Linked DNA regions of Homo sapiens: region 1 is linked to region 2. Evidence: promoter capture Hi-C in human tissues and cell types (Jung and others, 2019). All regions are on one chromosome and are shown on one strand. The core of a region is centred on a gene start or on the middle of the fragment in contact, and the rest is flanking DNA. Distances in the headings are between cores, read along the strand shown.

Region 1 (3,485 bases), core at 241-2,740, 1.2 Mb after region 2:
CCCAGCTACTCAGGAGGCTGAGGCAGGAGAATGGCGTGAACCTGGGAGGCGGAGTTTGCAGTGAGCCGAGACTGCGCCACTGCACTCCAGCCTGGGCTACAGAGCCAGACTCATTCTCTCAAAAAAAAAAAAAAAAAAAAAAAAAAAAAGGATAGAAAGATCCTTACCACATATTACCTCTTTGCTCTATCTGTAATAGTTTTAGGGTTTAAAAGGATGTCAGTCACAGGAACAGGAATTATTCTATCCTAAGTTTTCTGGTACGATTATCTCCTTACTACTAGGATTATTTTGATTCGTTCTAGTTTTCAATGGCTTAGATATGTGCACAGTTATTGTTTATAAACATCTTCAGAATCTTTTTGGAAGTGAGTGTAAATAACAGATAGAAACATGTTCAAAACTATGCCTTTTTTGATAAGATAATTTAGGTATGTTGGGGAAATAACATTTCTCTAATGTTCTATTTGGTGAAACTACTTTGGGCACAAAGACAGATAGAGATTTGTGTTCCAGCAAATGCACAGCAGGAACAGCTGAAACCCAGGGAGAGATAATGCCCTAAGTATAGCAGTTAAGTGATAAAGATTTTGATTCCTAAAGTGGCGAGCCCCAAGCCTCAAAGTGGCAGAAGCAGCTTAAGACAGCACATAGAAATGAGAAGAACCTCCTGGAGCTATGAAGATACCTTTGGGTACTGAGGAAGCCACGTAATGCACATTCCAAAGGACAGATACTTACAATTGGTGACAGTTGACTGCAGATCACACAAAGCACCATAATGTACTGAAACAGTTACCAGCACCTCCCCCATCATGAAATCCAAAGATCCTTTCAAAATTGTGAACTGTTATCTCTGTGATGTTGTCCACTCCTGGACACTCCTGTATAGTACTCTCCTTTGGCTTTGCTGACCTGCCATACACTGTCCAGACTTGCCTCCCTGATCTGTCCCTTTGAAGACTGCATTTCTCTTCTTAACTCCTTCACGTATTGCTTCAATTTTTACTTCCAGAGAGGTGACTGAAAAATACACTTTGAATCCAGATATCCAGTTTCCCAAACAAGAATATCTAGAATACACCTAAAATTCAGTAGATTGATCAGAGATAAACAAATGTATAATGTTTTGTGCAACACAAGGAACTTTCAGTTATATTCTGTGTAGTCGTGGGTTTTAATTAAGGTTGCCTTAGAAACCAGCACAAAGGACAAGGGGGCCAAACTTCTGAGATTTTTGGAAAACTCTCTCTGTACCTATTTTATTTACTAGTGATCTGTGTAGGTTGTATTTGGTGGGATAATGATAATAACAAAAACAAAAATAATAATCTGATTCAAAATTTACATTATGGATATTACAGAAATAAAAAGGACTATAAGGGAATACAGCGCACAACTGTTTGTCAACCAGGTAGGTTACATAAATAAAACGGACAAAATCTTAGAAACACACAAACTAATGAAACTGACTAAGGAGGAAACAAAATGGAAATAGACATAGTAAAGAGAGTGAATTAGTAATTTGAAAACTTCCCTCATAAAGCTCAAATGAGGACAAAAATGGCTTCACTGGTGAATTCTTCTAAATGCTTAAAAGAAGACTTTGTATCAATCCTATATCAAATCTTTGACAAAACAGAAGTGGAGCGTACCCTACCCAATCTTTTCTAGTCAGACAGAATAAAACCTTACATTTATGGTTAAGTGATTTTGACAAAGATGTCATCATAATTCACTGGGGAAAGATTAATCTTCTCAACAATTGTGCCACAACAGCTGGATATCCACATGCAAAATAATAAATTCATACAACTACCTTACATTATACATTAAAACAAACTAAAATGGATCATAGATATAAATATGGGAGTTAAAATTATATTAATAAAGAGGAAAACAGGATAATGCATTTTCTTGACCTTGAGTTAGTCTGATTTATTGGATATGACATTTAAATAGATTTTTAGGCTGGGTATGGTGACTCATACCGATAATCGCAGCACTTTGGGAGGCCGAGGCAGGTGGATCACTTGAGGTCAGGAGTTCAAGACCAACCTGGCCAACATGGCGAAACCTGGTCTATACTAAAAATACCAAAATTAGCTGGGCATGGTGGCGTGCACCTGTAGTCCCAGCTACTCAGGAGGCTGAGGCAGGAGAATCACTTAAACCTGGGAGGCAGAGGTTGCAGTGGGCCCAGATTGTGCCACTGCACTTCAGTCTGGGTGACAGAGCAAGACTCTGTTTCAAAAATAAATAAATAAATACATAAATAAATAAATAATTTTTTTAAATAGATAAATTGGTCTCCTACAAAGTTAAAAACATTTTTTACTTCAAAACAAATTGAACAGTCGCTCAATGGACAAAAATATTTGCAAATCATATATCTTTCAAGGAAGCTGTATCTCACAACTTCTAAAGAAACTCTTACAGCTTACTAAAGAAAAGTAATCCAATTAAAAGATGGGCAAATGATCGGAACAGACATTTCTCCAAAGGAGATAAACAAATGGTTATTAAGCATATTTGAATAATTATAAGCAACAATGATGATCAGCATCATTTGCCATTAGGGAAATATTAATGAAAATCACACTGAGATATTATTTCATACACACCAGGAGAGCTATAATCAAAAAGATAATATCAAGTGTTGTCAAGGATGTGGAGAAAATTGAACCATTTACGTTGTTGATAAGAATGAATAAAGTTGCAGCCACTTTGGAAAATATTTTGGTATTTCTTCAAAAATTTAAATATAGAGTCACCAACATGACTCAACAATTCTCCTTCTAGTAAAATGAAAATATACATCTATAAAATGTTTGTACATGAATGTTCACAGCAGTACTCTTTATAATAATCAAAAAGTGGAAATAACTCAGATTTTTATTAACTGATGAATAGATAAACAAAATGTGATATTTCCATAAAATGGAATATTATTCACCAATAAAAAAGAATACAGCACTTATATATGAGGTAATTCTTGACAACAGTAGTCTAGGTGAAAGAAGTCCATCACAAAGGACAACACACCATATAGTTCTATTTATACTGAATTCCAGAATAGGCAAATCTACAGAGATGGAAAGTAGAATGGTGGTTGAGTAGGGTTTGTGAGTTTGGGAAAATTGCAAGTAACGGCTAATGAGTATGAGATTTTTGTTCTGTTTTTGTTTGGTTTTGTTTTTTCAGAAGATGGTAAAAAATGTTCTGACATTGATTATGGAGACAATTGTATAGCTCTGTGACTGTACTAAGAAATCAATGAGTTGTAGATATTTAAGCAAGTGAATAGGATGGTTTTTGATGGTTTGTGAATAGGATGGTCTTAATTTTTAAAAATTGCAAATAAGTCAGGAAACCAAAGCCCCAAGCAATTTCTCCTATGGAATTTTATATTTCTCTGTCAATACCATTATTTTTCTAGTCACCAAAGCTTAAATTTGAGTCCTTTTAGATTCTTCCCTCTCTTG
Region 2 (3,238 bases), core at 550-3,049:
CGCTTGAACCTGGGAGGCGGAGGTTGCAGTGAACCAAGATTGCACCCCTGCATTCCAGCCTGGGCAACAGAGTGAGACTCCGTCTCAAAAATAAATAAATAAGTAAATAAATAACAAATAAAAGTAACTAAAAGGGTATCACTGGATTGTTTGTAACACAAAGGCTAAATGCTTGAGGGGATGGATACCCCATCTTCCATGATGTGACGTGCCTGTATCAAAACATCTCATAGGCCCCATAAATATGTATACCTACTATGTGCCCACAGAAATTAAAAATTAAAAATTAAAAAAAGAAAAGGGAGGGGTGTACGTGTGTATGTGCATGTGTATGCAAGGTTGTTATGAGAAAAATGAAGAATGCTGTATTATTTGTTTCTGGGCAACGATCACTTCACAGCTCAGCTCAAAAGACTTATATCCCTGTTAGAGATGTAAGTCCCTAATGTCACGTTTAACCATGAGGAAATAAAACCCAGCATAAGTACAGTAGCTTTTGCCTCCCTCCCATTTCAGATCCTTCTCTCGCGCTGCTCTATCCCCACTCCGGCCACTCCTTCCTTCCCTGACACTGTCCTTGAGAAGCAAGCAGGAGGCGCATCCATGCCACCATGCCAGTTGCCTTCCAATTTTGCATCTCTAGAAACACCTACTGGCCTGACTTGAAGGAGCCTGTTCTTCTTGCGGTTCTTTCTAGGAGAGTGAACTCAGTTGACTTTAGGCAGTGGAAAGATTTCCGTTCATATTGGTGAAGAGTGGGCAGTGCCGTGGGTCCCTCCTTTCCTAACAGTGATAAACTCTGGCTCGAGGTGCTCCCAGTGTCTACCAAGCAGAGCCACTCCCAGGGAAATGGAGAAAAGATGCCATCCAGCTAGGAGGAACTACATCCTGAGGGGGAGGAAGTCAGTGATAAGAGAACAGCCTTTGCTGGGGCCCCTTCCTTTGTGAGGAGGTGGCGGAGCTGGTGGGTGCAGTGGAGGTTGAAGGGTTGCTCTCCTCACCTGCCCACCTCTGGCTGCAGAGATGCATCCCCTCCCGGTGAGGAGGCAACGTTCTGCAGAGCTTCTGCTCTGGTTCCCCCAGGGAGCAGGCCTTTGGCATCCCAGTGCCCATCACTCCATCATTTTAGCAGCAGGTCTCAGCACCTGCTCTCCAGACGGTCTGGCCCAACTGCTGCAGGTGGTGGGGGCAGTCGAAGAAATGAGTTCTACTTTCTATGAAGCAGAAATGAGTTCTCTCTGGGATGCCAGAAAGGGGTACTCTCTGGGTTCTCCACCTCAACCTAATTCCCTCAGGAGCTTTGATTTTTTCCAGTGTCATTTCCCCATCACCCTCTAAGAAGGGGGAACACGTCAAGAAGCATCAAGGAATTGACAGAGATTAGACAAAAGGAGAGTGCGGGGCTTCTAATGTCCTTCCCTCCAAATTTTGAATTGCATTGAAGAAAGTATAATGAGCATCAAACAAACAAATGAATAAAAAGCAACTCACCCCTGCTCCACCTGTGGCACATAGAAGCCTCAGCATTGTAATACAACAGCAGAAGCAGCAACATCTTCCAATGCATCTTGTCCTTCAAAAGGTGAAAAATCGACCCTCAAGCCCAGTGGAACCCCAGTAGCTGCAGGTATGCCCGTGCCGTTCTTCCCAGTGAGATGATGGAGTGCTTCCCTCCCTTCCTTTTGCAGACGTGCAGAAATGCCTACTCTGCCTCAGAAGGCTGGAGGCTGAAGGCTGCGTCCTGGGTGGGACAGGAGTCGGTACCTCTCTTCATTTGACGCTCTCTGGGATTGGGGAACTGGCCTTCCACAGAGAGACTCTGTTTTTGAGCACATCTGGAGTGACTCACGGGGCATGTGATCTCCTTGGCAGTGGGGCGGATAAATATAATTTCTGTACTTGAGTTCCATGTGTTGGATGCACCCACTGGAATTTTTCTTTAACAAACAGACCCGCGGAACTTGTTAGAGAGCCCGGCGAAGAGTTGGCTGCTCTCCCCGTCCACACATACGATACCAGAGCCAGGGGCGAGGGCTGGAGGCAGAGTTGGGAGCCTGCCTGGCAGACACCAGGGCTGGTTGAGCCTAAGTTGCCTTCAGGACAGCAAAATCATTGTGGTGCCTGGGCTGAGTGTCACTGTTGCCTGGCCCTGGAGCTAGACTAGGACATTGGCGCCTAGAGCCTGTGTCTGGTCTGCCCAGGTTCTGGGTGGGTGGGGAGTTGGCAGGTTGTGACCGAGCCGAAGTGGAGAGGTGACATGGTGCATCGGTATTGTCTGTGTGAACGTGCGTAGGTAATGATCCAGGAGCCCACGGGGACCCCCAACTCACATTGGTGATGCTCCCATTTCTGGGCTGTGCCTAGACCTGGGGCCAAGCCCCACAACTCACATTGGTGATGCTCCCATTTCTGGGCTGTGCCTAGACCTGGGGCCAAGCCACTTTGATTTTCCCAAGCAAAATGGGAGTGTTTTTCCATAGTCGTTGTAATATACTGCCATAGACACCTTAATTCTTTCCCAATCACTTCCTCAACTTCTCTGAAATGATAGGGAATGCTAAAGCTTGAAGGACACTTAAAGATTATGTCATCCTGTGGGTTTTCCAGTTTGTGGAGGTGGTGCCCAGGGTGAATGGGCTCCCCAAGAGGGCTCCTCAAAGCTCTACTCTACTGCAAAAGCTCCTCTTTTATCTGCTATAAGAAGTTGTTTGGGAGCCGGGCATGGTGGTTCACGCCTGTAATCCCAACACTTTGGGAGGCCGAAGTGGGGGAATTGCTTGAGGCCAGAAGTTCAAGACCAACCTAGAGAAAATAGACCCTGTCTCTACAAAAAATTAAAAAATTAGCTGGGCGTGGTGGCATGTGCCTGTAGTCCTAGTCACTCAGGTGGCTGAGGCAGAAGGATTGTTTAGGCCCAGGAGTTCAAGGCTGCAGTGAGCTATGATCACAACACTCTACTCCAGCCTGGGTGACAGAGTAAGAACTTTCCTCTTAAAAAAATTAAAAAAAAAACAACCAGTTTTTTTGGGGGAAAAAATACTAGACTACAACATTTGAAAACCAGTACGCTCACTAATATTAATAATAGCTATTAGGTGCTTAATTTGCTTCAGACAGCGTGCTAGGTGCCCTCCTTGCATTAACTGATTTAATGCATCCACCGAACTAGGAGGTTAGGGCACTAGCCAGCAGCACTCTCCAACAGAAATGTAACGTGAATCACAAACGTCACTTAACA

What was found. The method cuts DNA at HindIII sites, captures the fragments that hold promoters and counts their contacts. A contact is called where the count stands out against the background at its distance.
Region 1: a contact is called between a fragment that was not itself captured here and the fragment with the promoter of FAM180A in region 2, in 1 of the 25 tissues and cell types used here (mesenchymal stem cells).

The regions. Positions count from the first base shown.
Region 1 is chr7:136,930,779-136,934,263 of GRCh38, forward strand. The region is part of intron 2 of CHRM2 (cholinergic receptor muscarinic 2); the gene reads left to right. The region is part of intron 2 of LOC349160 (a long non-coding RNA gene); the gene reads right to left. Among named protein-coding and RNA genes, the nearest start is that of MIR490, 29 kb to the left of the region's middle. The HindIII fragment of the contact is 4,485 bases long and covers 1-3,485 here.
Region 2 is chr7:135,747,014-135,750,251 of GRCh38, forward strand. FAM180A (family with sequence similarity 180 member A) reads right to left here and starts at 1,800. Exons shown (of 4, transcript NM_205855.4): 1 at 1,492-1,800. The coding sequence starts at 1,567. The HindIII fragment of the contact is 9,123 bases long and covers 1-3,238 here.